7 separate regions of the Homo sapiens genome follow, and all the other regions are linked to region 1. The links are contacts of gene promoters, found by promoter capture Hi-C in blood cells and fetal thymus (Javierre and others, 2016). All regions are on one chromosome and are shown on one strand. Each heading gives the region's core, a stretch centred on a gene start or on the middle of the fragment in contact. The rest is flanking DNA. Distances are from core to core; before and after follow the strand shown.

What was found. Contacts are between HindIII fragments. The CHiCAGO score rates a contact against its expected background, and 5 or more counts as called.
Region 2: a fragment that was not itself captured here is called in contact with the fragment with the promoter of NDUFB6 in region 1 in 15 of 17 cell types (M2 macrophages, M0 macrophages, M1 macrophages and 12 more); the score reaches 14.2 in M2 macrophages.
Region 3: a fragment that was not itself captured here is called in contact with the fragment with the promoter of NDUFB6 in region 1 in 14 of 17 cell types (M1 macrophages, M0 macrophages, M2 macrophages and 11 more); the score reaches 18.1 in M1 macrophages.
Region 4: a contact is called between a fragment that was not itself captured here and the fragment with the promoter of NDUFB6 in region 1, in 12 of 17 cell types (naive B cells, monocytes, fetal thymus and 9 more). The highest score is 9.9, in naive B cells.
Region 5: a contact is called between a fragment that was not itself captured here and the fragment with the promoter of NDUFB6 in region 1, in 1 of 17 cell types (M1 macrophages). The highest score is 5.0, in M1 macrophages.
Region 6: a contact is called between a fragment that was not itself captured here and the fragment with the promoter of NDUFB6 in region 1, in 1 of 17 cell types (M0 macrophages). The highest score is 5.5, in M0 macrophages.
Region 7: a fragment that was not itself captured here is called in contact with the fragment with the promoter of NDUFB6 in region 1 in 1 of 17 cell types (M2 macrophages); the score reaches 7.4 in M2 macrophages.

What each region holds. Positions count from the first base shown.
Region 1 is chr9:32,571,640-32,575,411 of GRCh38, reverse strand. It overlaps NDUFB6 (NADH:ubiquinone oxidoreductase subunit B6), which reads left to right and starts at 2,253. Exons shown (of 4, transcript NM_002493.5): 1 at 2,253-2,531. The coding sequence starts at 2,352. RefSeq lists enhancers at 1,846-1,895, 2,166-2,705. The HindIII fragment of the contact is 6,496 bases long and covers 1-3,393 here.
Region 2 is chr9:33,027,563-33,031,646 of GRCh38, reverse strand. It overlaps DNAJA1 (DnaJ heat shock protein family (Hsp40) member A1), which reads right to left. Exons shown (of 9, transcript NM_001539.4): 4 at 1,658-1,762; 5 at 980-1,207. Among named protein-coding and RNA genes, the nearest start is that of DNAJA1, 4.3 kb to the right of the region's middle. The HindIII fragment of the contact is 755 bases long and covers 2,135-2,889 here.
Region 3 is chr9:32,985,182-32,988,750 of GRCh38, reverse strand. APTX (aprataxin) reads left to right here. Exons shown (of 8, transcript NM_001195248.2): 3 at 622-668; 4 at 905-1,207; 5 at 2,721-2,780. Among named protein-coding and RNA genes, the nearest start is that of APTX, 15 kb to the left of the region's middle. The HindIII fragment of the contact is 2,055 bases long and covers 544-2,598 here.
Region 4 is chr9:33,003,246-33,007,353 of GRCh38, reverse strand. It overlaps a transcript of APTX not described here. Among named protein-coding and RNA genes, the nearest start is that of APTX, 3.7 kb to the right of the region's middle. The HindIII fragment of the contact is 833 bases long and covers 2,307-3,139 here.
Region 5 is chr9:33,046,527-33,050,615 of GRCh38, reverse strand. It overlaps SMU1 (SMU1 DNA replication regulator and spliceosomal factor), which reads left to right. Exons shown (of 12, transcript NM_018225.3): 11 at 2,358-2,510; 12 at 3,225-4,089. The coding sequence ends at 3,323. Among named protein-coding and RNA genes, the nearest start is that of DNAJA1, 23 kb to the right of the region's middle. The HindIII fragment of the contact is 491 bases long and covers 1,491-1,981 here.
Region 6 is chr9:32,941,586-32,945,623 of GRCh38, reverse strand. No RefSeq gene overlaps it. Among named protein-coding and RNA genes, the nearest start is that of APTX, 58 kb to the left of the region's middle. The HindIII fragment of the contact is 3,420 bases long and covers 423-3,842 here.
Region 7 is chr9:32,922,917-32,926,931 of GRCh38, reverse strand. It overlaps the pseudogene BOLA3P4. Among named protein-coding and RNA genes, the nearest start is that of APTX, 77 kb to the left of the region's middle. The HindIII fragment of the contact is 3,149 bases long and covers 1-3,145 here.

The sequences.
Region 1 (3,772 bases), core at 1,004-3,503:
AAAGTTATAGTTGATCCTTGAAAAAAACAGGTTGAACTTCGAGGGTCCATCATACGTGGATTTTCTTCTGCCTCTGGCACCCCAAGACAGCAAGACCAACCCCTCTCTTTGCCTCCTTATGATTTTCTTAATAACAGTTTATTTTCTCTGGCTTACTTTATTGTAATAATATAGCATATAATACATATACAAAATGTGTGTTAATTGACTGTATGTTATCAGTAAAACTTCTGGTCAAGAGTAGGCTATTAAGTTTTTGGAGAGTCCAAAGTTATATGTGGATGTTTGATTGTGCCAAGTGGAGGGGATTGGCACTACTAACCCTAGCGTTGTTACAAGGGCTATTGTATTTAGAATGATGTGTACCTTTGAGATTATGCCACCAAGTGGACCAATTAAGAGCTACTGGTTTTTACTTGATTTTTATGGACTGCTTTTTGTAAATTTAATTTTGTTTTGTAATGATATTGTTAAAATTAAAACTTTAGAAAAATTAAATTTAGCAGAAATTAATTGAGCAATGACCAATTTGAGAATCAGGCAGCCCTCAGAACCAGAGGAGGTTCAGAAAGTATCGTTCCACAAAGAGGCCAGGCAGCACGCATAGAAAAAAAACAGAAATGAGATACAGAAACAGCTTGATTGGCTACAGGTTGGCCTTTGCCTTATTTGAACATGGGCTGATCAGTTGACCACCTGTGATGATTGGCTGAGACTCAGTTATTTGTTACAGAAGTATATTCCTAAGTTAGGCTGTGAGTTAAATTGCATACTAAGTTGGGTTGCAGTTCATTATATAAGGACTCAAAATACGGAGACATCTTTAAGCTAAATTTAATTTCACAATATGAAATATTTACTTGGTTCTAAAGTCAAATTTATGAAGTAAGATGTTTCCAGAGATGTCTAGATTCTATCCCTGTCTCCTCTATCCTATTTATTTCCTCCACCATAGGTAGCATCTTTAAAAACCTCAATTGTTTTCATTCCCATTATTTTGAAAATTTAAGAAAATATGTATATATATTGAAATTACCACCATCTTTCTCTTTTTGGGTAAAAGCATACTGTACAAATTCCTATCCATTTTTTTTCCACTTTGTAATGTATTCTGGAGATCACACCACAGATGTATATAGAGTTCTTCCTTATTACTTTTGACGATTGTATTAGCATTTCATTGCTTTGTTGTGTGAAAGTTTTTGGGAAGCCACTGTTTTGGACTAGCTTCACGCACTAGGCCCCAGCAGACCAGACCAAACCAGAATGGAGTCGTTTGTGCTAAGTACCACACAATCAAACTGAACTTTGAAATGGGCCAGTTTCCCAAAAAATAGGAAATTCCCTTAAGTCTGAGTCAGTGAAACAAGGAAGTTTCTTCTGCTTTAACCCTAAAAGTAACTTTGAAACGATGAGTCCACTTTTTGTTCGGTTTCTGCTTTCTTCAGCCCCTATTTGCCAATAAAACCAACCGCCTCTGCTCAGCTGATCAGAACACTCATTCTACTTTATAGAATGAGGTGTTTTTTGATTCTAGAATCACGAATAAGAGTCAATTAAGATTTTTAAACTAATTCGTTGTAATGCTGTCTTTTGACTGTTGTACTACAATTTATTCAAGCAGTCCTTTATTTAGGAATTTGGGGGTAATTTCCAATATTTTGGTATTATGAATCGTGCTGAATAGTCGTGCATGCTCTTTCATATTTTCACCACACGTATTTTTGGGTGAAAGCATGAATTCATCTATGCAATTTTGCTAGATATTAAGCTACTCTTTTCACTATTCCTGTACAGATGGAGGGACAGATGAGACAGCTGCCCAGGGCACTTCAGCAGTTACTGGCATAGCTGGGATTTGAACTGGGATGTAACTATTTTCATACACTCTCTAGGTCATTCCAAGGTGGGAGAGGCAAGCAAATAATTTTGAATCTGGCCAGCATATTCACTGAAACATTTATGCTTATCCTTCCTCCTCCCAGCATACAAGTTCTTCCTTAGCAAAACCTCCAGTCCTCTAATTTAGCATACTTTCGTCTAATCTGTCACTTTCCTCAGGCCCCACAACTACGAGTACTCCTTGTCCCCACCCGGTCCTAATTTGGTCGGGTATAGCGGAGGTGGGCGTAGAGAGAACTGGAGGTGGAGACCTTTGTGCATGCCCACACACTGCTTTCCTCGCGAGGAATCTGGGGCCCTTGCAGAGGCGGAACCAGGATGTGACGTAATAACCGCGCGCGGCGCTCGGCGTTCCCGCAAGGTCGCTTTGCAGAGCGGGAGCGCGCTTAAGTAACTAGTCCGTAGTTCGAGGGTGCGCCGTGTCCTTTTGCGTTGGTACCAGCGGCGACATGACGGGGTACACTCCGGATGAGAAACTGCGGCTGCAGCAGCTGCGAGAGCTGAGAAGGCGATGGCTGAAGGACCAGGAGCTGAGCCCTCGGGAGCCGGTGCTGCCCCCACAGAAGATGGGGCCTATGGAGAAATTCTGGAATAAATTTTTGGAGAATAAATCCCCTTGGAGGAAAATGGTGAGTGACAGACCTCTCCGGTCCCCCCCAACACATCCCACTGCTGCCGGCAGCCTGAACACTGAACGTCCGCTCCCTGCAGCCACACCAAGGACTGATAACGCTCAGTGCTCTGGGACACTGGCCAGTCCCGAGAGTCCTCCTGGAGTCTCGGGAGGCAGGAGTCCAGGAATATGTATGGCTTTGAGAGAATCATGCCTTTTACTGTCAAGTACAGTGGACGGGGGCGAATTTTAATACTTAGGTTTTCCAGGACGCTGCACGTTTGGTTCTCTTTTGACTGTAGAAATCTTCCCTCAGAATAATAACCAAGGACTCGCTAGAATTAAAATTCTGTGATTTAAGTATTTGAGGACACTTGTCTGACTTTTAAGTGTGAGGTTCTAGAGACCAAGTAACACAGTATCCAACCACCAGAGGGCACAGCCAGCCCCTAGCTGATAGTACAGCCCCATGTGATCCCCGTAAAAGACAGGGTCCTGTTGGTATGCCTTGTGAGTCACATTCAAGAGCTACCTTTCTAAACTACCGTTCTGTACTTTTAACACAGTGTTTCATTAAAAAAATCGCATTTTGGGCTTTGAAGAAAATCACTCATTCAAGAACTTTATTTTCAAGGCCTCTGGGTATTTTCTTGAGGACTGTTATGGATGATAAACATCTCAGAATTGCTTTCAGTTACCTGCAACACTTACTGATGACAGGATAATAGTAGTAACAATACTACGTAACACACGGGTGCTTGCTGTGTGCTTGGCACTCTACTGGGGGTTTTACATGTGTTACTTCATTTCTTTATTCCTGTAAGGTAGATATTCCTAATCCTCATTTTAAATGTGAAGAAACTGAGGCCTACAAAGCTTCAGTGATTTGCTGGTGGTCAGGGAGCTAGGAATTGAATATGAGTTCATATTGTAATCAACATGTATCTGATTCTTACTGTGCTACAAAGTCTAGTGCAATAGAATTGTTGAAAATTTTTCTGAGAAAGTGATATTGGATACTTATTTATGGTGGTAAAATTCAACTCTTCTCCCACCCTTTGTATCCCTGACATTATCGGAATATTGGCAGTCACTGATTTAAAGTTGACATCCCATCCATCAGCAAGTGATATAAGGAAGTAAATAAATAATAATGTGTCGAAGTTCACCTTACCTTACTTTAATTTATTCTTTTATAATCATATCTGTTATAATTCTTAGATTCTGGATTGTCCCTTCCTTGAATGGATAGGTGTT
Region 2 (4,084 bases), core at 1,263-3,762, 460 kb before region 1:
CCAGCCTAACATGGTGAAACCCCATCTCTACTAAAAATACAAAAAAAATTAGCCAGGTGTGGTGGTGCACACCTGTAGTCCCAGCTACCTGGGAAGCTGGGGCAGGAGAATCGCTTGAACCCAGGAGGCAGAGGTTAGAGTGAGCCAAGATCGCATCACTGCACTCAAGCCTGGGCAACAGAGCAAGACTCTACCTCAGAAAAAAACAAACAAACAAAAACATGCCCATTGGTTTAAAAAATAAACATGAGGCGGGGTGCGGTAGCTCATGCCTGTAATCCCAGCACTTTGGGAGGCCGAGGCAGGTCATCACCTGAGGTCAAGTGTTCGAGATCAGCCTGGCCAACATGGTGAAACCCCGTCTCTACTAAAAATACAAAACATTAGCCGGGCATGGTGCTGGGTGCCTGTAATCCCAGGTACTTGGGAGGCTGAGGCAGAAGAACTGCTTGAACCCGGGAGGCAGAGGTTGCAATGAGCTGAGATCGTGCCATTGCACACTCCAGCCTGGGAAACAAGAGCGAAACTCCGTCTCCAAAAAAACCATGAATTTTTATGAGACCCAATTCTTCACCTAACTCCCCTTTCAAATCCTTAAAAGTATGCCTATCCCTTGATCTAGTAACTCCTAATTAAGAATGTGTACAATTCTAATGTTTTAAAAGATGGAAGAACTATGGTTTAACAGGAGAGAATTAAGTTTGGAACACTATTCAATCATTTACAGGACCACAGATTTCAAAAGATGATCCTGTTATATTAAATGAGGAGATTCCTAATATATTCTGTATTAGTAATATACCAATGTGCAAAATTATGTCTGGATAAAAGAACATTATTTACTAAGCTGCTAAGAGTTATTTCTGATTGATAGGATCATATATAACCTAATTAAGAATGATTTTTAAACAATTATAAAATGTTAATAATAAATCTGCCACAGCATTCAAGACTTCAGAATAAGTAACTCAGAACTCACCTTTGTCAATATGAACTTCTAAAATTTTCTTCTCTCGAACTATCTTCCTTCCGTTGCAGCTTTTACATCTATCTTTAGGACTGATCCGCTCCCCATGGCCCTGGCACTCCATGCACACAGACTGAATTTGCTGAACCATTCCAGGTCCTATCTGATGAATTCTTATTTGCATTCCAGTACCTCGGCAATTGGGACAGCACTCTACTGCTCCTTTCTTACCTCCTCTACCTAAATTTAAAAAGAAAATTAAATAATGTATGAATTAGTAGTGTATACAGTAGTAAATGTTTTAAGAAGACAATTCCTAAATGCTATACTTTTAATATTTTCGAAGCCTGATGGAATGCTACCCTCTGAATGTACAACTGATGAGATCATTCCAATGAGTTTCATTCTTATTAGAACACACTTTCCAATAAATTTTACTTATTACAAAAAAGATACCAAACTAGCTTGATCCCAACTGTATTTAAAATATACACAGAAAAAAGTGCTGATATTTCTTTAGGTGGGAGGTTTTCAGTTGGTTTTCTTCATATCTGCCCTCTCCTCCCCCAAAATCTAGGTAGTGTACATGAATCAATTTTACATATCTATCTAGAAGTCTTAGCTCCATTTTCAGGTGTCATATTAAAGGTGCTTAAAAACAAAACAAAACAAAACAAAAAAACACCGTACCTTCACATTTGTCACAAATCACATTCTTTTGCAGAGCCAGTTTTCTTGTTGCACCATTATATAAGTCTTCTAGGGTTACTGAGAGCTGATGTACAACATTTTTACCTAAAACAAAATATTTCTCATTGCAAATCTGTTTAAGATGCTGGATCTTATTTGTGCTAAAGGCACTATAAAGAATGTGGCAAAGAATAATAAAAGATGAGCCTCACAGGGTACATCTGTTGACTACCTACTATATACACAGAATGTTCACGTTATCACAGATGATCCTCAAACTGTGATGTAATCACAGATGAGGGAAAATCAGGTCAGAGATTAAATATTTGCTTAAGGGCACAGACGTGGCCATCTTGGAAATATGGTAAGCAAAAGCATTACCTTCAAAGTCACTTGAGAAAAACCAATGTTATTTAAAAGGGCACATTTCACAATAATCCAAACATTCATTTCTGTCACAATATATTTTTTGAAGCTTTCACTTCGTACCGTATTGAGCAACATGGCCAATTACTTCATCCAAAAATTCTGTAGCACAGTAAATTCTCATTAATCAAGATTGGCCAGGGAAGCTGATGTATTTATTGAGTCACCACAGAAGAGTATCAATTTCTACTTCTTCCTGATTTAGTAGAAAACAGCCCATTTACTGCTGGGCCAGCACTGGTTGTTTTGAAGGCCAAATTTCTCATACCTTTTATAATAGCATTGCCCAACAGAACTTTCTGCAGTGATAAATGTTTTATATCTGTTCTGTCCAACGTAGCAGCCACCAATCACATGTGCTTATTGAGCATGTAAATGTGGCCATTTAGACTAAGAAACCGTATTTTTGTTTTTGTCTTAAATTAATGGAGCCACACATGGCCAGTGGCTACTAAGGAGTGCCTTACTTCACTTAAATCAGAATAGGAAATGGAAGGTCAAGATCTCATAAGGACACTGAGGTTAGAAGTATGAAGTCACCTGCTAGTAAGTTAGTAAGTTCCTAACTAGTGGTCCTTCCACAAGGACTTATTCACAACAATATTATTGCCTTTCCACCAACTGAAAAAAGTTCTCAAACTCGTTTCTGTACAATATGCCTAATGAACATTTTAACTTTCTAATCAAGCATGAAATACCATTAATTATGTCCTTCTGCTTATAGTTCCACCTTTAGTTTTGGCACGCTAAAATCTAGCTGCCCTTATTTTGAACAGTGTTGAGTATAAGGAAGGAAAAATAAAGCTTCTAGAGCTTGATGAAGCGCATTTCCCCAGAAATAACCTCTCAATATGATCATAAGCCACATAAAAGAGCTTGCCAATGTTAACCTGCAGGTTCTTTGTAAGGTAAGTGAAAAACCACCACTACTTTTTTGTGGACAAATTCTAACAATTTACTAAGCAAGTCATTTGGATTGTGGACTTTCTTTTTAAGGAGTTTAAGTATCTTAATAAAAACATAATCCTTTCCTTGAAGATCTTTAAAGAAAAACTGAATAAACAATTTCCCAAATCTTTCTGAACCTTAAGAAGCTCAAAGTGAAATTTAATGGCTTGGCCATTCATTCTAAAACTGGTTCTGCTCATCAGCCCTTATTTGTATACACTATACTGGAAATAAAGTGAGACTGATTTCTCTTGAACATTTTACTCCTATAAGCAGTATTTCTAGAGCCCATAGGCCACTTTCCTGATAAACATATTAAATACATAATTTTGACACAATAAAGCTGAAACAAGAATAGATAGATGGCAGGCAACGAACCAGTTTTCAGCCCTGGCTCTGTTGGCTTGCTATATGAGCTTGAAGAAGTTTTAGGTTTCTGAACTTTAACTTACTCCCATTTGAAAAAGGCCACTGTACCTACCATCAAATTCCTTTGGGGAGTGAGGGAACACCAAATAAGATCTGTAAAAAGGGCTTGGAAAATTATATTGCTATATACTTTGTCTTTTTTTTTTTTTTTTTTTTTTTTTGAGACAAGAGTCTCGCTGTGTTGCTCAGGCTGGAGTGTAATTGGGCGATCTCAGCTCACTGCAACCTCCACCTCCCGGGTTCAAGCGACTCTCCTGCTTCAGCCCTCCTGAGTAACTGGGATTACAGGCACGCACCACCATGCCTGGCTAATTTTTGGATTTTTTTGGGTTTTTTGTGACAGAGATTCACTCTTGTTGCCCAGGCTGGAGTGCAGTGGCGTGACCTCCGTTCGCTGCAACCTCTGCCTCCAGGGTTCAAGCGATTCTCCTGCCTCAGCCTCCAGAGGAGCTGGGATTGCAGATGCCCACCACCACGCCCAGCTAATTCTGTAGTTTTGTAGAGATGGGGTTTCACCATCTTGGCCAGGCTGGTCTCGAACCCTGACCTCAGTGATCCACCCACCTCGGCCTCCCAAAGTGCTGGGATTACAGAATGAGCCACAGCACGCGGCCTGTTCTCATA
Region 3 (3,569 bases), core at 322-2,821, 410 kb before region 1:
TTAATCCTTGGTCAAGAGTTCGTGTGAGAAATGGATCTTTTTTTTTTTTTTTTTTTTTTTTTTTCCTCCTGAGATAGGGTCTCACTCTGTTGCCCAGGCTGGAGTGTAGTGGTGCGATCTTGACTCACTGCAACCTCCACCTCCTGGGGCTCAAGTGATTCTCCCACCTCAGTCTCCCAAGTAGCTGGGACTACAGGCATGTGCCACCACACCTGGCTAATTTTTGTATTTTTTTGTAGAGACGGGGTATTGCCATGCTGCCCAGGCTGGGAGAAACAGGTCTTCTTTTCTGGCGGCAGAGTCTGTGATCATGAGCAGGCCAGGGGTTCTGGAATAGGGAAACTTGTGGGGATTAATTGAAGCTGCCTCATAGGGATCTTGGCAATAGCTAAGGGAGTATGTACGCTGTTGGACATTTTATGGAAGGATTTAAACCTTTAGAAATTGGTAGGATTTGGAGCTCCAGCCACCTGCAATAACAGGTGATTGCTAATAGGCCTTTAAGGAAACACCACCTGTTCAGCTGCCGCCTGTAGTGAAGCTTGTTTTCTTTAGGGAAGATAGGAGCAAGTGCCTGGTTCTTTGTTGCATTTGTGTTTAACTTTTTCCAATCTCTTTCAGTACAGTTGAAAGCAGAGTGTAACAAGGGATATGTCAAGGTAAAGCAGGTAGGTGTATTTATAACTTGGAATTTTATACTCGATGATTTTCTTATGCTGTTGACTTTAGAGTGTCTGTGCCAGCCAGTGAAGGCTTCTCTGTCATGTATGGAAGTGATGGAGTAATATAGGTGAACATAAGGCAAGGTGCTTGGCATATAGTAAGTGGTTAACATAGCAGTGGCTATCTTACTGTAGGTGCTGTTGCTATTATTATAATTATTTTCTGATTGTTTATTCCATAGGTAGGAGTCAATCCCACCAGCATTGACTCAGTCGTAATTGGGAAGGACCAAGAGGTGAAGCTGCAGCCTGGCCAGGTTCTCCACATGGTGAATGAACTTTATCCATATATTGTAGAGTTTGAGGAAGAGGCAAAGAACCCTGGCCTGGAAACACACAGGAAGAGAAAGAGATCAGGCAACAGTGATTCTATAGAAAGGGATGCTGCTCAGGAAGCTGAGGCTGGGACAGGGCTGGAACCTGGGAGCAACTCTGGCCAATGCTCTGTGCCCCTAAAGAAGGGAAAAGATGCACCTATCAAAAAGGTGAGGGTAGTGTGATTGGTAGATGATGTGGAGAAGAAATGAAATATAATGACTGCTTAATTGTTTTGTACACTTTAAAGTTCAGAAATGCGTGAGGGGTTATTAACCATGATGAAAGAGTCACTTGTTTGTGGCGTGAAAATCATTTGGATGAATGTTCCTTTATGTGCTTTTTTCTTAAATTCCTGAGGTAAGCCACCTGAAGGTACAACAATAATGGCAGTGTGTACTTAACATTGAACAACTAAAGTGGATCAGTTGTTTATGCATCTATAGAAGGTTTTCATAGATCATGTAATTCATATGCTGATGTCAAAGTGGAGAATTGGTCAGGCTGTAGCTGCAGTGAGAGAGGGCAAAGAAGGTATGACTCATACTCTGGCATTTCTCGCCTTCATTTAGAACAGCCAGCTGTGAATATAGGAAGGCTGGCTGGGTGCAGTGGTTCACGCCTGTAATCTCAGCGCTTTGGGAGGCCGAGGTGGGCAGATCACTTGAGGGTCAGGAGTTTGAGACCTGCCTGGCAAACATTGTGAAACTCCATGTCTACTAAAAATACAAAAATTAGCTGGGCCTGGTGGTACACACATGCTTGTAATCCCAGCTACTCGGGAGGCTGAGGCGGGAGGATTGCTTGAACCTGGAAGGCGGAGGTTGCAGTGAGCTGAGATTGCACCACTGCACTCCAGCCTGGGCGACAGAGCGAGACTCCATCTCAAAAAACAACAACAATAATAAAAAACAGCTGGGTGTGCTGGCTCACGCCTGTAATCCCAGCACTTTGGGAGGCCGAGATGGGCAGATCACCTGAGGTCAGGAGTTCGAGACCAGCCTGACCAACATGGCAAAACCTAATCTCTACTAAAAATACAAAATTAGCTGGGCGTGGTGGTGCATGCCTATAATCCCAGCAACTCCAGAGGCTGGGCAGGAGCATCGCTTGAACCCGGGAGGCAGAGGTTGCAGTGAGCCGAGATCACGCCATTGTACTCCAGCCTGGGCAACAAGAGCGAAACCCCATCTCAAAAAAAAAAAGAAAGAATATAGGGTCGGGTGTGGTGGCTCACGCCTGTAATCCCAGCACTTGGGGAGGTGGAGGCCAGTGGATCACCTGAGGTGAGGAGTTCAAGACCAGCATGGCCAACCTGGTGAAACTCCGTCTCTACTAAAAAATACAAAAGTTAGCTGGGCGTGGTGGTGGGCACCTGTAATCCCAGCTACTTGGGAGGCTGAGGCAGGAGAATCACTTCGGAGGTTGCAGTGATCACGCCGCTGCACTCCAGCTTGGGTGAGACAGAGTGAGACTTTGTCTCAAAAAAAAAGAGAATATAGGAAGGCAATGGAGTGAAGCAGAGTCAAGTGAATCTTGTTTAATTCTCAAAAACTAAGCTTATTTCCAAGTTTAGTTGTGCTATCACACAGTATTAACTGTTGCCAAATTTAATTATTGGCATTTGTAATTTACATTGCTTGTTTTTTTTTTTTTTTGTTTTTTTTTTTGTTTTTTTTTTAGGAATCCCTGGGCCACTGGAGTCAAGGCTTGAAGATTTCTATGCAGGACCCCAAAATGCAGGTCAGAATACAATTTTGGAATTTCAGTACATTTCATGTTGTAAATGACCACTCCACAGAGGTCTTAATTACAAATGAAATCAAAGGATATCAGTCTTTCTGAATGAGATTCATTTTATTGGGCTGTTCTGTGAGAACAAGAGGCTTTTCACATTGGCAATAAAGTAGCAGCTGTCATTGTTTGGAGAGAAAGCTGAGTTCTTCAAATGAATATCCCCTCTGCCTTGTGCCTTTTAAACTTCTGGGTACTTTAAGGGAAGTTGCATTAACCTTAGTATGGTTCCTTTCAGGGGAGCATCAGAGATAATACACTGTGACAGTAGTACTGTGCTGCCCTGGCATTAACAGTCAGACATCCCTGTAATCCCAGCACTTTGGGAGGCCGAGACGGGAGGATCACCTGAGGTCAGGAGTTCGAGATCAGCCTGACCAACATGGAGAAACCCTGTCTCTACTAAAAATACAAAAAATTAGCTGGGCATGGTGGTGCATGCCTGTAATCTCAGCTACTCGAGAGGCTGAGGCAGGAGAATCACTTGAATCCGGGAGGTGGAGGTTGCGGTGAGCTGAGATTGCACCATTGTACTCCAGCCTGGGCAACAAGAGCGAAACTCCATCTCAAAAAAAAAAAAAAAAAAAAAAAAACAGGCATCATCCTTGAGGAGCCTTTGAGTCCCACTTCAATTATATTCCTTGTTGACAAGGGGCAGGTCTAATAGGGCTCACTGGAACCCACGTGTACGTGTCACACAGTCTGCCATGTTGGAGTGGAGAAGGATGCTTTTGAATT
Region 4 (4,108 bases), core at 1,474-3,973, 430 kb before region 1:
TCACTTCCTAACTAACTCTTCAGGGGTTTTTCAATGAATGATGAATCCACATACAGTTCTTAAATGGTTTACTATTGTCCTTGCTCAGGCCTCCTTATCTTCCTTTCACTAACTCCATTGGATTTTCACCTCCACTGGACTTCTAGCAACTCTAAAAGAATAATCTAAAAGCCCTGCTATTGGGCCTTTGTACATGCTCTTTCCTCAGTTTGGATCACAGACCTAGAATATTTTTCCATCAAGTCTTCATGTGTTTGTTTCCTTTCTGTCTTTCTGGACTCAGTCTAATTGTCCTTTCCTCAGATAGGCCTTTCTTTCTTTCTTTCTTTCTTTTTTTTTTTTTTTTTTTTTTTTGAGACAGAGTCTTGCTCTGTCGCCCAGGCTAGAGTGTAGTGGCGCAATCTAGGCTTACTGCAAGCTCCGCCTCCTGGGTTCACACCTTTCTCCTGCCTCAGCCTCCCAAGTAGCTGGGACTACAGGCACCCGCCACCTTGCCCGGCTAATTTTTTGTATTTTTAGTAGAGACGGGGTTTCACCATGTTAGCCAGGATGGTCTCGATCTCCTGACCTCGTGATTCGCCTGCCTCGGCCTCCCAAAGTGTTGGGATTACAGGTGTGAGCCACCGCACCCGGCCAGATAGGTCTTTCTTGACGCCCTCACAACCCTCTCCCTCTCTACTGTTTCTCTGGAGAACTCTGACTAATACAGCTTTCCCCAAATGCCAAAACAAAATGAGGTGTCCCAGCTATACTCTCTCTCAGAATTTCATATTTTTCCTTCTGAGCAAGTCTCTGGACCAGGCAACCACAGCCTCTGGCTTCACCTGCTTTTCCCTTAGATCAGGTAGGTACTCTGCCTCCAACTGCTTTTCCCTTAGAGCAGGAGTCTCAAAATCTTAAAGAAAGAAGGGCTTTCAGGGGGCCAGACAGGTTATATAAGTGAGTGGGTGGAAACAGTGGCAAACTGGAGAGCACATGGCAGCTATTCACAATTCTAGCTATTTGTTGTTAGACTTGGCTAGATTTATTGATTTTTCCCCCAAGAGATCAGGAATCCTGATTTTTAAAAAAAATTCTTTTTATTAAAATTTTTTTTATAGAGAGAGGGTCTTGCTATGTTGGCTGGGCTGATCTTGAACTCCTGGCCTCAAGCAATCCTCCTGACTCATCTTCCCAAATGCTGGGATTACACACATGAGCCACTGAGCCCAGCCAGAATCCAGGTTTTCATGTGAGATCTCATTTCTAACTGTTGGAATTAAAACAAACAAACAAACAAACAAACAACAAAACCCTGAGCAGAGTAGCCAAAAACAATCTTGAAAAAAAAAAGAATAAAGTTCTTATACTTCCTGATTTCAAAAAGTATTACAAAGCTATAGTAATCAAAACAGTGCAGTACTAGTGTAAAGACAGACATACAGACTGATGGAATACAATAGAAATCCCAGAAGTAAATCCTTGCATAAATGATTAAATGATATTCAGTAAGTATGTCAATACCATTCAGTGAGGAAAGGGCAGTCTTTTCAACAAATGATATTGTTAAAATCTGGGTATCCACATGCAAAAAATTGAAGTTGGAGCCTTACCTTACATAGTACAGAAAATGAACTCAAGGCCAGGCACAGTGTCTCACACCTGTAATGTCAGCACTTTGGGAGGCTGAGGCAGGAGGATTGCTTGAGCCCAGGAGTTCAAGATCAGCCTGGGCAACATAGCAAGACCTCTGTCTCTATTAAAAAAAAAATTAGCCAGGCTTGGTGGGACATGCTTGTAGTCCCAGCTACTTGGGAGGCTGAGGTGGGAGGATTGTTTGAGTCTGGGTGGTCAAGGCTGCAGTAAGCTGTGATTGCATCACTGCACTCCAGCCTGGGCAACAGAGCAAGACTCTGTCTCACAAAAACAAAAACAAAAACAAAAAACAAAAAAATAAAACCACACCTCAAAAATGGATCAAAGACCTAAACATAAGACCTAAAACTATAAAACTCTTAGAAAACATAAGGGAAAAGTTTCATGACAGATTTGGCAATGTTTTCTTGGATATAACACCAAAAGACAGGCAGCAAAAGTAAAAATAGGTAAATTAAAGTACTTCACAATTAAGTTTTGTGCATCCAGGGATACAGCCAGCAAGCAGAGTGAAAAGCACCCTATGAAATGGGAATCTTATATTTGATCAGAGGTCAATATCCAGAATATATAAAGAACTCCTACAACAAAACAAAACAAAAATAACCCCATTAAAAAATGAAGTACTTGAATAGACATTTCTCCAAATACATACAAATAGACAGGAAGCTTATGAAAAGATCAACATCACTAATCATTAGGGAAATACAAAGCAAAACCACAATGAGATACCATTTCACACCCATTAGGATGGCTGCTATCAAAAAAAAGTAACAAGCGGCCGGGCGCAGTGGCTCACACCTGTAATCCCAGCACTTTGGGAGGCCGAGGTGGGTGGATCACAAGGTCAGGAGTTTGAGATCAGCCTGGCCAATATGGTGAAACCCCATCTCTTCTAAAAAAAAAAAAAATACAAAAATTACCCGGGTGTGGTGGCAGGCACCTGTAGTCCCAGCTACTCAGGAGGCTGAGGCAGGAGAATCGCCTTAAGCCGCGAGGTGGAGGTTGCAGGGAGCCGAGATTGCACCACTGCACTCCAGCCTGGGTGACAGAGCGAGACTCCATCTCAAAAAAAAAAAAAAAAAAAAGGGTTGGCAAGAATGTGGAGAAATTGGAACTCTTGTACACTATTGGTAGAAATGTAAAATCATCCAGCTGCTATGGAAAACAGTGTGACAGTTCCTCAAAATATTAAAAATGGAATTACCATATAATCCAGCAGTTTCACTTCTGTGTATATATTCAAAATAATTGAAAGAAGAATTTTTAAAAATTGTTTCACATTAAAAACAAATTTCAGTGGCTTTAGGGGTACAAATGGTTTTTGGTTTCATGGATGAAGTGTATAATGGTGAAGTCTGAAATTTTAGTGTACCTATCACCCGAGTAATAGTTACACCCAATATGTAGTTTTTTAAAATCTCTCATCTTCCTCCCACTCTCTCCACTTCTGAATCTCCAATGAACATTATACCACTCTGTATGCCTTTACATACCCAAAGCTTAGCTGCCAATTATAAGTGAGAACATGTGGTATTTGGTTTTCCATTCCTGAGTTACTTCACTTAGAAAAATGGCCTCCAGTTCCATTCAAGTTGCTTCAAAAGACATTATTTCATTCTTCTTTATGGCTGAGTAGTATTCTGTGGTGTATATGTACGACATTTTCTTTATGCATTCATCAGTTCATGGGCATTTAGGTTGGTTCCATGTTCTTGCAATTGCAAATTGTGAAAACAGGATCTCAAAGAGATATTTATACACTCATGTTCATAGCAGCATTATTCACAATAGCCAAATGGTGGAATATCCACGGGTGGATGAATGGATAAAGTATGGTGTGTACATGCAATGGAGTGTTATTCAGCTTTAAAAAGGAACTTTTTACACATGATACAATGTGGATGAAACTTGAGGACATTATATTAAGTGAAATAAGCCAGTCGCAAATGGGCAAATACTGTCTGATTTTACTTACATGAGGTACCTAGAGTGGTCAGACTCATGAAAACTGTAAGTAGAATGGTGGTTGCCAGGTGGGGGAGGGAAAATAGGGAGCTATTTAATCGATACGGAGTTTTTTTTTTGAGGCAGAGTCTTGCTCTATCGCCCAGGCTGGAGTGCAGTGGAGTGATCTTGGCTCACTGCAACCTCTACCTCCCGGGTTCAAGCAATTCTTCTGCTTCAGCCTCCCAAGTAGCTGGGACTACAGGCGAGTTCCGCCACGCCAGGCTGGTCTTGAACTCCTGACCTCAGGTAATCCACCTGCGTTGGCCTCCCAAAGTGCTGGGATTACAGGTGTGAGCCACCGTGCCTGGCCGAGTTTCAGTTTTTCAAGATGAAAAAGTTCTGGTGATTAGCATGGCAATATGAAGTGCCTGAAAGTCTTCACTGCCTGCCATACCTTTAGCTATACATTGTGCCATGTGATCTTGCTTTTCTGGCCACTAATACACTATAGACAATGGACTAG
Region 5 (4,089 bases), core at 487-2,986, 480 kb before region 1:
GACCTCGTGATGCACTCGCCTCAGCTTCCCAAAGTGCTGGGATTACAGGCCTGAGCCACCACACCCGGCTTTTTTTTTTTTTTTTTTTTAAGTGCTTAATAACATTTATTTATCCAGTCATCTACCAAAGGACATCTTGGTTGCTTCCAAGTTTTGGCAATTATGAGTAAAGCTGCTATAAACATCCATGTGCAGATTTTTGTGTGAATATGTTTTCTATTTCTTTGGGTAAATGCTAAGTAGTGTGATTACTGGATTGTATGGTAAAGTATGTTTAGTTGTAAGAAACTATCAAACTGTTCCAAAATGGATGTATCCTTTTGTATTCTCACCCTTGGTGAATGAGAGTTCCTGTTACTCCACATCCTCACCAGCATTGAGTGTGGTCAGTGTTCTGGATGTTGGCCATTCAAATAATAGGTGTGTAGTGGTATCTCATTTTAATTTGCATTTCCACATGTAGAAATCTTTTCATATGCTCATTTGTCATCTCTATACTTCTGGTGAGGTTTCTGTTTCAGGTATTTGACTCATTTTTCAATGGGGTTGTTGTCTTACTGTTGAGTTTTAAGAGTTTTTTGTATATTTTGGATAATAGTTCTTTATCAAATCTGGTTTTTACAGATATTTTCTCCCAGTCCATGGCTTGTCTTTTCATTTTCTTCCTTTTTTGTTTTTGAGGCAGGGTCTTGCTCCATTGCCCAGGCTGGAGTGCAGTGGCATGATCATAGCTCACTGCATCCTTGAGCTCCTGGGCTCAAGAAATCTTCCAGCCTCAGTCTTCTAAGTGGCTGGGACTACAGGCACGTGCCACCATGCCCGACTTTTGTGTGTGTGTGTGTGTGTGTGTGGAAATGGGGTCATGCCATGTTGCTGAGGCTGGTCTCAAACTCCTGGCCTCAAGTGATCCTCCCACCTTAGCCTCCCAGAGTGCTGGGATTACAGGCATGAGCCACTGCATCTGGCCTCATTTTCTTGACAGTGGCTTTTACAGAGTAGAAAATTTTAATTTTAATGAAGTCTAGCTTATCAGTTATTTCATGGATCATGTCTTAGGAGTTGTATCTAAAAAGTCATCAAACTCAAGATCATCTAGATTTTCTTTTTTGTTATCCTCTAAGAGTTTTAAATACAGTTTTGAGTTTTACATTTAGGTCTGTGATCCATTTTGAGTTAATTTTTGTGAAGACTGTAAGGTCTTTATTTTATTGTGTCTAGATACATTTTCTTGCATGTAAGTGTCGAATTATGGCATCTCTTGTTGAAAACACTATCTTTTCTCTATTATATTGCTTTTGCTACTTTGTCAAAAATCAGTTGAGTGTATTTCTGGGCTTTGTATCCTGTTCCATTGATCCAATACCACACTGTCTTCATTACTGTAGATTAGTAGTAAATCTTGAAGTTGGGTATTGTGAGCCCTCCAACTTTGTCCTTCTCTTTCAACATTGAGTTCGCTATTCTGGGTCTTTTGCCTCTTTGCGTAAGCTTTAGAATTGGGTTGTCAATATCCACAAAATAATTTGCTGGGATTTTGATTGGGATTGTATGAAATCTGTAGATTAAGTTGGGAAGAACTGACATCTTTACCATATTGAGTCTTCCTGTTCATGAACATAGAATATCTCTGTGTAGTTCTTTGATATCCTTCATCAGAATTTTGTAATTTTCCTCATTTAAATATTGTATGTATTTTGTTAGATTTATACCTAAGTATTTTCACTTTGGGGCTGCTAATGTAAATGGTATCATGTTTTAAATTTCAGGTTAATCCCAAGCCCTAACCCTTGGCAACCACTGATCTGTTTTCCATTATTATAATTTTGTCATTTTGAAAATGGTATAGAAATGGAAGCATATAGTATGTAAACTGTTCGCCTTTTCAGATTGGTTTCTCTCAGCTTGGTTTATGATGATTTTAATGTATCAATAGAGCAAGCAAAGTCTTAGAGACTGAGTGTCATCCTGTATGGGGAAAGCTTCTCATTCTGTTAGAGGAAACTGGAGAGCAGACATCCAGAAAGCTTTGAGAAATACTGGTATATTGATTTAGAAAATTGTTTTTTGTATGGCAATGAAATTTGCTTAAGGGTAATATGTCTCTTTAGGGCATGATTGGTGACGTGGGATGTATGAATTCTAAATTTTTGTCTGCCACTTAGTTTAGATTACTTATCTATTGAATATTTCCCAGGCAAGGGGAGTTAGCACATGATGAACAGGACTGGAGATCTAATTACAAATGATAGTAAACCAAAGTGCAAAATAACAACGTAAAAATGTCAGTTTAAAATGCTGCACATGGTTGAGCTGCTACTAATCCTGATGTTTTTTTCTTGGGGTGTGGTGTGATCTAGATTGTCAGAAGCTTCAGTTCTGGTAAAAGAGAAGGTGGGGACTTTGTTTGCTGTGCCCTCTCTCCCCGTGGTGAATGGATCTACTGTGTAGGGGAGGACTTTGTGCTCTACTGTTTCAGTACAGTCACTGGCAAACTGGAGAGAACTTTGACAGTGAGTATTACTTACTAAGTTCATCTAAAGAAATATGGTAGGACTTGTGTCTTTCTGAACTCTGAAGTATGTGCCTTTTCCAGAGCTATCGATGTGACCCTCAGTATAAAATATGTTGTTTTAAAACATTTAGCTCCATGTCAAATTCAAGAAGTAAAATTAATGTCAGCTGCTATGATGATCCCCAAATCTCGGTGGCTTAACACTATATAAGTTTGTTTATTTTTATTTTATTTTATTTTATTTTGAGAGGGAGTCTCACTCTGTCACCCAGGCTGGAGTGCAGTGGTGTGATCTCGGCTCACTACAACCTCTGCCTCCTGGTTTCAAGTGATTCTCCTGCCTCAGCCTCCCAAGTAACTGGGACTACAGGCACATGCCACCACTCCTGGCTAATTTTTTGTATCTTTAGTGGAGACGGGGTTTCACCCTGTTGGCCAGGCTGGTCTTGAACTCCTGACCTCAAGTGATCCACCCGCCTCTGCCTCCCAAAGTACTGGGATTGCAGACATGAGCCACTGCGCCCAGCCTAAAGTTTATTATTATGTCACAATGTGATGTGAGTTGGAAAACCCTCCTCCATCTTTCTCCTATGCCATTTGGAATATGTGGCCTCCCAAGATCTCTTTTTCCCTTCCACCCACCTCTGGAAGCCTCATCAGAGTGATTTATTGCAGATCTGTACATCCTAACCCTGTGCTTTACATGTTCCAGGTGCACGAGAAGGATGTGATTGGTATTGCACATCACCCTCATCAGAACCTGATTGCTACCTACAGTGAAGATGGACTCCTAAAGCTCTGGAAACCATAATTCAACTTTTCTTTTTAAATCAGCTCGAAAGCATGTACTTAAATGAAGCATATTCATGTAATGTGCTTTTTTTTTTTTTTGCCAGCTTTTCTAAGCAAATAGATTGTCTGAATTAGTCACAGAATAATTTTGTGAAAATTCATGTTTAAGTAGCAACTACCCTTTCTTTTTTTATATATTTTTAAGGTATTAGTTTATCTTCTTCTAACTGGTGCAGTCACTTAATGTTTTCATTAATCTTCGACCTGGAGAGTGAAATACTGATATTTCTAGAAAAAAATTCTACTCCTCTGATTATTTGAAATGCTGAGGAAAATGTCCCTCCCATAGTAAAACTTGTAAATAAGGAACTATATCATATTCAGTAGCTGTGTTCTGTTCCATCTTTTTTTTTTTTTTTGAGATGGAGTTTTGCTTGTTGCCCAGGCTGGAGTGCAGCGGCACGATCTTGGTTCACTGCAACCTCCGCCTCCCAGGTTCAAGCGATTCTCTTGCCTCAGCCTCCCGAGTAGCTGGGGACTACAGGTGTGCGACACCATGCCTGGCTAATTTTTTTGTATTTTTAGTAGAGATGGGGTTTCACCATGTTGGCCAGGCTGGTCTCAAACTCCTGACCTCAAAGGATCCACCCGCCTTGGCCTCCCAAAGTGCTGGGATCACAGGCGTGAGCCACCATGCCCGGCCCATCTTTTTTTTTTTTTTTTTTTTTAAAGATGTTAATAAACTTTATACCTTTCTGGAGACTTTGTTCTAAAATGTACATAAA
Region 6 (4,038 bases), core at 883-3,382, 370 kb before region 1:
TTAATGACTTGGAAACATAAAATCTATTTAAAGATTTTTAAAAATTTATTTATTTATTTATTTTCAGAGACAGGGTCTTGCTCTGTTGCCCAGGCTGGAGTGCAGTGGCAGGAGCATAGCTGTACTGCAGCCTCATACTCCTGGGCTCAAGGGATCCTCCTGCCTTAGTTTCCCAAGTAATAAGGAATACAGGCACGCACCACTATACCCAGCTAATTTTTTTTAAAGACGAGGCCTTGCTATGTTGCCCAGGATGGTCTCAAACTCCTGGCCTCAAGAGATCCTCCTGCCTTGGCCTCCTGAAGTGTTAGGATTAGAGGCATGAGCCACGGTACCCAGGCCTGAATTTTTAAATATAAACCCAAAAGCACAGGCAACAAAAGTAATAATAGACAAATGGGATTGTATCAAACTAAAAAGCTTCTGCACAGCCAAGGAAATAATCTACACAGTTAAGAGACAACCTACAGAATGGGAGAAAATATTTGCAAACCATACATCTGATAAGGGATTAATATCTAAAATAATAAGGAACTGAAACAACTCAATTGTAAGAAAACAAATAATGCAATTAAAAAATGGTCAAAGGATTTGAATAGACATTTGTCAAAAAAAGACAAACAAGTGACCAAGCACAGTTATCTTTTGGGATCTGTAGGGGATTAATTCCAGAACACCCTGCGGATACCCAAATCTGCTGATGCTCAAGTCCCTGATATAAAATGATAACAGTATTTGCATATAACCTACACACATCCTCCCATATACTTTTATTTTTTTATATAAAGACGGGGCTTCACCATGTTGGCCAGGCTGGTCTTGAACTCCTAGTCCCAAGTGATCCTCCCGTCTCGGCCTCCCAAAATGCAGTGATTACAGGTGTGAGACATCATGCCCAGCCCCCTCCCATATACTTTAAATCATCTCTGGATTACTTATAATACCTAATAAAATGTAAATGCTATATATGAATACTATCCAGCTTCAAGAAGGAAGGAAATCCTGCCATTTGTGACACCCTGGATGAATCCAGAGGACATTATATTAAGTGAAATAAGTCAGATACAGAGAGACAAATACTGCATAATCTCGTTTGTACGTGAATTCTAAAGAAGTTGAACTCATAGAAGCAGAGAGTGGAATAGTGGTTATCAGGCTGAGAATTGGGCGTTGGGGAGATGTTGGTCAAAGGATACAAAATTTCAGTTAGGAGGAATAAATTCAGGAGATCTATTGTACGGTATGGTGAATACAGTTAATATCAATGCATTGTGTTCTTGAAAATTGCTAAAAGATTAGATTTTAAGTGTTCTTACCTCAAAAAAAATAGGTATGTGAAGTAATACGTTAATAAGCTCAATTTAGCTACCCCACAGTGTATACATATTTCAAAACAATATATTGTACACAATAAATTATATAATTTTTGTCAATTAAAAATATTAGAAAAAAATACATTGGGCCAGGCATGATGGTTTATGCTTGTAATCCCAGCACTTTGAGAGGCGGAGGCAAGAGGAACTCTTGAGGCCAGGAGTTCAAGTCCAGCCTGGGCAACATAGACCCAGTCTCTACAAAAATTAAAAAACTAGGTGAGTGTGATGGCATGTGCCTATAGCCCCAGCTTACTCAGGAGGTTGAAGTGGGAGGATCACTTGAACCCAGGCGATCAAGGCTGCAGTGAGCCATGTTCATGCCACTCCACTTTAGCCTGGGCAGTACAGCCAGAGCCTGTCTCAAAAAACAAAAACAAAAGTAATTGGTTACCTCAGAGGGGTAGGTTTGGAAGATGTGGGGTATGGACGGGGCTGATTAAGTTTTTTTTTTTTTTAATATATCCCTGTATTGCTTCATTTTGTGCACAATCTTTAATACTTTTATAATACAAAAAAGAGAAATTTTAAAAATGTGTTTGCTCTATCTCCAATGTCTAGAACAGTGTTTGGCACATATTTGGCATTCAATAAATGTTGGTTGCATAAATAAACAAATGGATTTTGTTAACATTTGTTGAGTACCTGCAGCGTGGTAGGCATTGGACAGCAGGTACTGCCTCGTATTTGTGTGGTCTATAAACCATTTGAGTTAATTGGATTCTGGTATATCAGAGAGCAAACTACATGCCTTCAAACATAACAAACGGAGACAAAGTTACAGCTACTCCTCTAGCTAAAGACACTACCCCTGCTCTCTGAGTGCATCATAAGGATCCTACTGATGTTTATTTCATATCTTTGATATACAGGCACACACCGTCCACACTTCAGGCAATCATTTACACACTGAGTGGGAGTGTGATAAGGGCATGTGGAGTAGGAGAAGTTTTCTGATCCGAACTTTACTGACTGCGCTAGAAAACCCTGATGATATCCTTTCCAGTGTTTCTAAGAACAATTCTTCCATTTCTAAGCATGATTCTTCCATTTCTAAGCAGCATGTTGTCTGTTTACTTATGATTATTTTTTACTTGTTATCTGTAAATGTTGGGGTGATCAGACCCAACACCAGGTCGTGGGGGCAACGAAGTCCTGCTGAGTCAAAGGAATGAGAAAAAGACAGTTTGAGAGAGAAAGTCGGACCAGGGGGCCATCCTGAGTGTGGAGCCTGTGAAGGCCCAGAGCTTTGGGAGCCCACACTATTTAGTGGTGCTCAAACAAAGAAACAGGTGGTGAGGATGTGGGGGTTGAAAGGAAACAGTGTATCAAGTGAATGAAAAACATATGGCGGCTTGAGATAATGGGAGTGCTAGAAGCAAGGAGCCAAGCAAGTCTAGCAGACATGCAAGCCCTGCCTCAGCTTCTCTCCGGACACTCAGCTTTTTCTCCCAACAGTAAATAAGGTTCTTTTTTATTTAAAAATAAGTAACAATTTATTTTCTTTTCAGAAATTTGGCTCAGTTGACAGGGTTGAGTTTCTGCAGTGATTGCTGAATTATTAATTAATTAATATTATTATTTGAGACAGAGTCACTCTGTCACCTAGGCTGGAGTGCAGTGGTGTGATCTCAGCTCACTGCAACATCTGCCTCCCCAGTTCAAGTGATTCTCCTGCCTCAGCCTCCCAAGTAGCTGGGATTACAGATGTGTGTCACCATGCCCAGCTAATTTTTGTATTTTTAGTAGAGACAGGGGTTTCACCATGTTGGCCAGGCTGGTCTCGAACTTCTGACCTCAGGTGATCCACCCACTGTGGCCTCCCAAAGTGCTGGGATTACCCACATGAGCCACCATGCCTGGCCCAGCTTCTTATCTGGTCTTTTTGTCTCCCTGCTGTTGCCACCTTCTACCCCCTTCAAATCCACACTCTACAGCTTCTAGGGATTATTTTTTTGAAAACGCAAATCTAACCATGTATATCAGACACATCTTCCCTACCTCTGTAGATTCTCTCAGCTTGATCAATTTCACAGACCCTTGGATTATTGTTCTATGCAAGCCCCTGCAATTCCACTTGAGGCCGACCAACCATACTCTTGGCTTCTCCCCTACTTCTGGGTAAAGAAGTCAGGGTTAAATCCTCTGGGGCAACTTTGACGAGCAGGAGAAAGGAGTCCCTTCCATGGACTTGTCCGGGGCACGGTTTTCCCACATACCCTGTCCAGGGACATCTTGTGTGGCCAAGCAGTGTACTTTTTAGCTTTTGAGTAAAGCTAAAATGGGCTTTGCCTCTTTATGGCTTGTCATAAAGCAGTAAGCAGTTGCATTTGTTTTCAATTCTTCCTTCACTTCACTGCTCTGAGGCTTTACTTCCCAATAAAATTTTAGCACCTTAATCCTACCCTTAAGCTCTGTTTTCTAGGGAACTTGGGCTAAGATATGAAGTTATTTTCTGCTTGAAAAGCTTTCCTTGGCTCTTTATTGCTTCCAGAAGTGTTTATGGGGATGGGGACAGCCGTTTGGAGATTAGTAGGATTTCTTTTCTAGTAGGTATGGGTGTGTCTGAGCATAGTATTTTATTTAATTACTTTGCTTTTTTTCCTTTATATTAAAGATATTGTATTATTAAAAATTAGGAGTGCAGATAGGTTACGTGATCCAT
Region 7 (4,015 bases), core at 322-2,821, 350 kb before region 1:
CCCTGGGCCCCCAGCCCTCCTACCTTCTTAGGCCCTTAGATCCACTGCTCTAAAGTTCCTCCGAGAGAGTGGATGTTGAGGGGATTCAGGTTCTCCTCTAAGTCCTTCCCACCAGACACACTAATTTTCTATGAGACGTCAGTTGGACATTGGCTTTTGTCCCCTTTCTTCATTTTGGCTACCAATATCATTATCTCTAGAATAATTTTTTGGCTCATGGATGGTACCTTTCCTTAATTTCTAGCACCAATGAGATTTGTCCCAGTTTTACATTTCCTTAGTCATTTCAGACACCTATGCTCAGATCTCCATCTGTTTTTTGAGTTGAACATCTTTTCCCACCTCTCTCCTCCACCAGTTGTCTGTTGCCTTTAATTAACCTCTAAATAGATAACACATTCTTCTTTAATTGTAGTATGGAAATGTCTACGAACAAAACAGATACTTTTTTTTTTTTTTTTTTTTTGCAAATGCGTAGGAAAGAGTGGTTCCAGTCAAGTTCATCCGAAGTTTTAGGCAGCTGCATCTACACAGCCCCGGGGGCATGGAGGTCAGTGTCTGGGGACAGAGGTAAATACCCACCATCTGTGCATCCCTTTGATTTTCCTTTTTTAGTGCCTGATTAATCATCTGGTGCTGAGGGACAGTTCTTGTTTCTTTAAATTCTTCTGGTTTGATTTGGATTTTATACATCACCTACAGCCTCCTGAAATGTCAGTGACTTGGATAGCTGTAGCTCCAGAAAACTTCTCTTTGAGAATTTGGGTCCCTTTGAGCTCCCCGTCAGTCTGGGAGGCAAACATTCAATGAACACAGTGCAGAAGAGGAAGCCTGCAGATCCTGCGTGGAGAGGAGCTACAAGGGCAGGGTTCCACATCTCTGTGTCTGACTGATGTAGCCCGCCGCCCTAGGCCACTGGGCCACCTGAAAGCTGAGCATCCTTTTTAAAAGAATTTTTGGACCTTTTATTTTGAAATAATTTTAGACTTAAAGAAAAGTTGCAAAAATTAAATGGAGTTCCTTTATACCCTTCACCCTGCTACCCCTGTTAACATCTTACATAATCAGGAAATTAACATTGACAGGAAATTAACCAGGACATGAAACCAGGAAATTAACATTCGTACAATGCTTGTAACTAAATTGCAGACCTTATTCAAATTTCCCCAGCTTTCCCCTAATGTTGTATTATTGAGCATCTTTAAAAAATGATTTTTAATGCATCAGAAATACTCACAAATGATTTGCATCGGATCTGTAGTCATACCTGGAGGCCCAAAGAGTGGGTTATATTAATTTTGAGTTATATGTTTGGTCATTTGTGTGTTAATTTTGAAATCACAGACTAGCTCAGTGCCAAGCATGTAGTCTTGGCCGAATGAACATTGACTGTGGCCCTATGCTTCACACTGTGATTTCAAAGATGAGCTAGATGGAGTCTCTGGAGTCAGCATTAAAATCTCTAGGGAAAATCATGTTCTTATGTTGGTAATTCCAAAGATAAGCTGTAAGGAGCACAGTTGGAGCATTTGCTCTCTAGAGATCACATGTTGTAAGGAAATTTTGCTTTTCTGAAAATTAGAAATTAGAAAAATCCTGTCAGCCAGTAAACTTTTAACAAATGGTGGAAACTAGAGCGAGACTGGGAGGAGAGGTATCAGGAATTAGGAAATGTAGCCTTGGCTGGCCTCCTCACCACACCTGGAAATATATCCCTTTGAGAGTAAATTAATGGGACCCCTACATTTACGGAATGAGGATAGTACTGATATTTGGATAACACTCTATAACCAGTGGTTTTCCATACAGCATGCCATTAAAAATCCTCCTCTCAAAACCTGATCATGGTGGTCTGGTGTGCAGAGTGAAATAAAGCATCTTCACCGGCTCTGTTTCTTTCCAGGCTTAGAGATGGCCTGGATCCAGAGGCCCCCTGTGAGTGCAGTCAGTGCGAGCCCTTCAACATGCCCTATATGGTGTCTGCTTCAGACAACTCTCATGCCTATGCTGTCAGGACCGGAATCCTCCCCACCAGGTATGGCCTTGCCTAGGGATTCTAAGTCTTATGTTTACCTGTGCTGTGCAGGTCAAATGTTCTAGTAGTGAAGGAATGACCCACTGATAGAAATGAAGTAGAGAAAGGCGACAATTTAGGAATTTCACCACTAGGCTAAACTACTTCCAAACATTCAGAGAACCTTGGATGAGCAGTTCAAAGTCCAGGGCAAGCACAGAAAATGTTGTGAACAGGTTTCACTCTTTATTCTCCTTTGTTATGAAGATGATGTATTAGTAACAGTGCTACAGGTAGTTAGGCATGAGTGGGGCAGGAGAGGGCTCTCCCTCCACCCACTAGAAATGTCGGGTGATGGTTTGGCAATTATTGCATCGCTTCTCTAAAACTTATAATTTGGCAGCGCCAGGGAGAGGCCATTTCCTGATGGTTCACACCTGTTAACATCAAAATGCTAATTGAATGCAGGCCCCAGGGAGAAGCAACTTCCTGGGCATGCGTGTTAAGAGACAAAAATGGTGAAATATGATCTTCTGGGGGCACCCTCCACTGGAAAAGGAAGAAAGCCTCAGATGGGCATGTGTACAACTCCCTAAACTCACTGTGTGTGCTCAATTCCAAAGAGTAAGGAAAGCATGGGCATGCGGAAAGCCCACCCTAAGGGAAGAATCCTGGGAGAGAGGCGAGCCTATATAGTCCCCTATAAAGGCGAACCTATAAAGATCAAGGTCAAAGGCCCCTTTTGCTGTCTTCTTTTGCTCTCATTTCTCTCTTGGACCTTCAGTGCCTGCTTGGGTCTCTTTCAAGCTAATTTTCCTTTCTTTCCTGTTCTAAAGGCTTTTAAATAAACTTCCACTCCTTCTCTGAAACTTGGCTTGGTCTCTTTTCTGCTTTATGCCCCTCGGTTGAATTTTGGACCCATACAGATATGCTGCCAGTAACTCGGGGAAACTTGGATCTCTTTCACTGTAACGGTGGTAATTGTAATCAACGATAAGTGCTTCTTCTGTGGTTTACTTGAATTATTTCCTTTAATTCTGACTGATTTAATTTTAATTCTGATTTAATCTATAAATCTGTAAATTTTAATCCTGGTTTAATCTATAAATAGGCAATAATACAGATGAAGCTTAAAAAGTTGGGTAACTAGATTGAGGTCAAGTAGCCAATAAGTGCACAGCAGAGCCTTGATTCACACCCAGGCATCCTGGCTAAGAGCCTGCCCTCTTAACCATAGACCATACTGGGACACAAGTGATCCCAACATCATTCTGTTTGATTTGACCTTCAGCATTCTCTCTTCTGATTTGTTTGATGCTCAAGGCCTGGTTTTCTTATTACCTAAAACATACGCTCTTTTAGCTTTTGTTTCCTATTTCTTTGTAAAATGAGGTAACTCTGTTGGTCAGTCTCTAAGCTCCTTTCTAGGGCTAAAATTCTACAGTCCTGCAATTCTTTTTTTTTTTTTGGTTGTTGTTCTTGTTGTTGTTGTTGAGACAGAATCTCGCTTTGTTGCCCAGGCTGGAGTGCAGTGGTGCCATCTCAGCTCACTGCAACCTCTGCCTCCTGGGTTCAAGTGATTCTCCCACCTCAGCCTCCCGAGTAGCTGGGATTACAGGTGCCCACCACAATGCCCAGCTAATTTTGTACTTTTAGTAGAGATAGGGTTTCACCATGTTGGCCAGGCTGTTCTCAAACTCCTGAGCTCAAGTGATCTGCCTGCCTTGGCCTCCCAAAGTGCTGGCATTACAGGCATGAGCCACTGTACCTGGCCAGTCCTGCAGTTCTTGATATCACTCTTTAAGTGTTGGATATCTTTAACATTGCTGCTGAAAATATGCAACAAACAAATTTTATGCTTGCAAAAATAAAGAAATCTGGATGGACCCACCAGAATGTTACCCGGGGTTATTTCTGGGTGGAGGGATGATGGTTGTTTTAAAAACAATTATATTTCTTTTTTCTTTCTTTTTTTTTTTTTTTCAGATGGAGTCTTGCTCT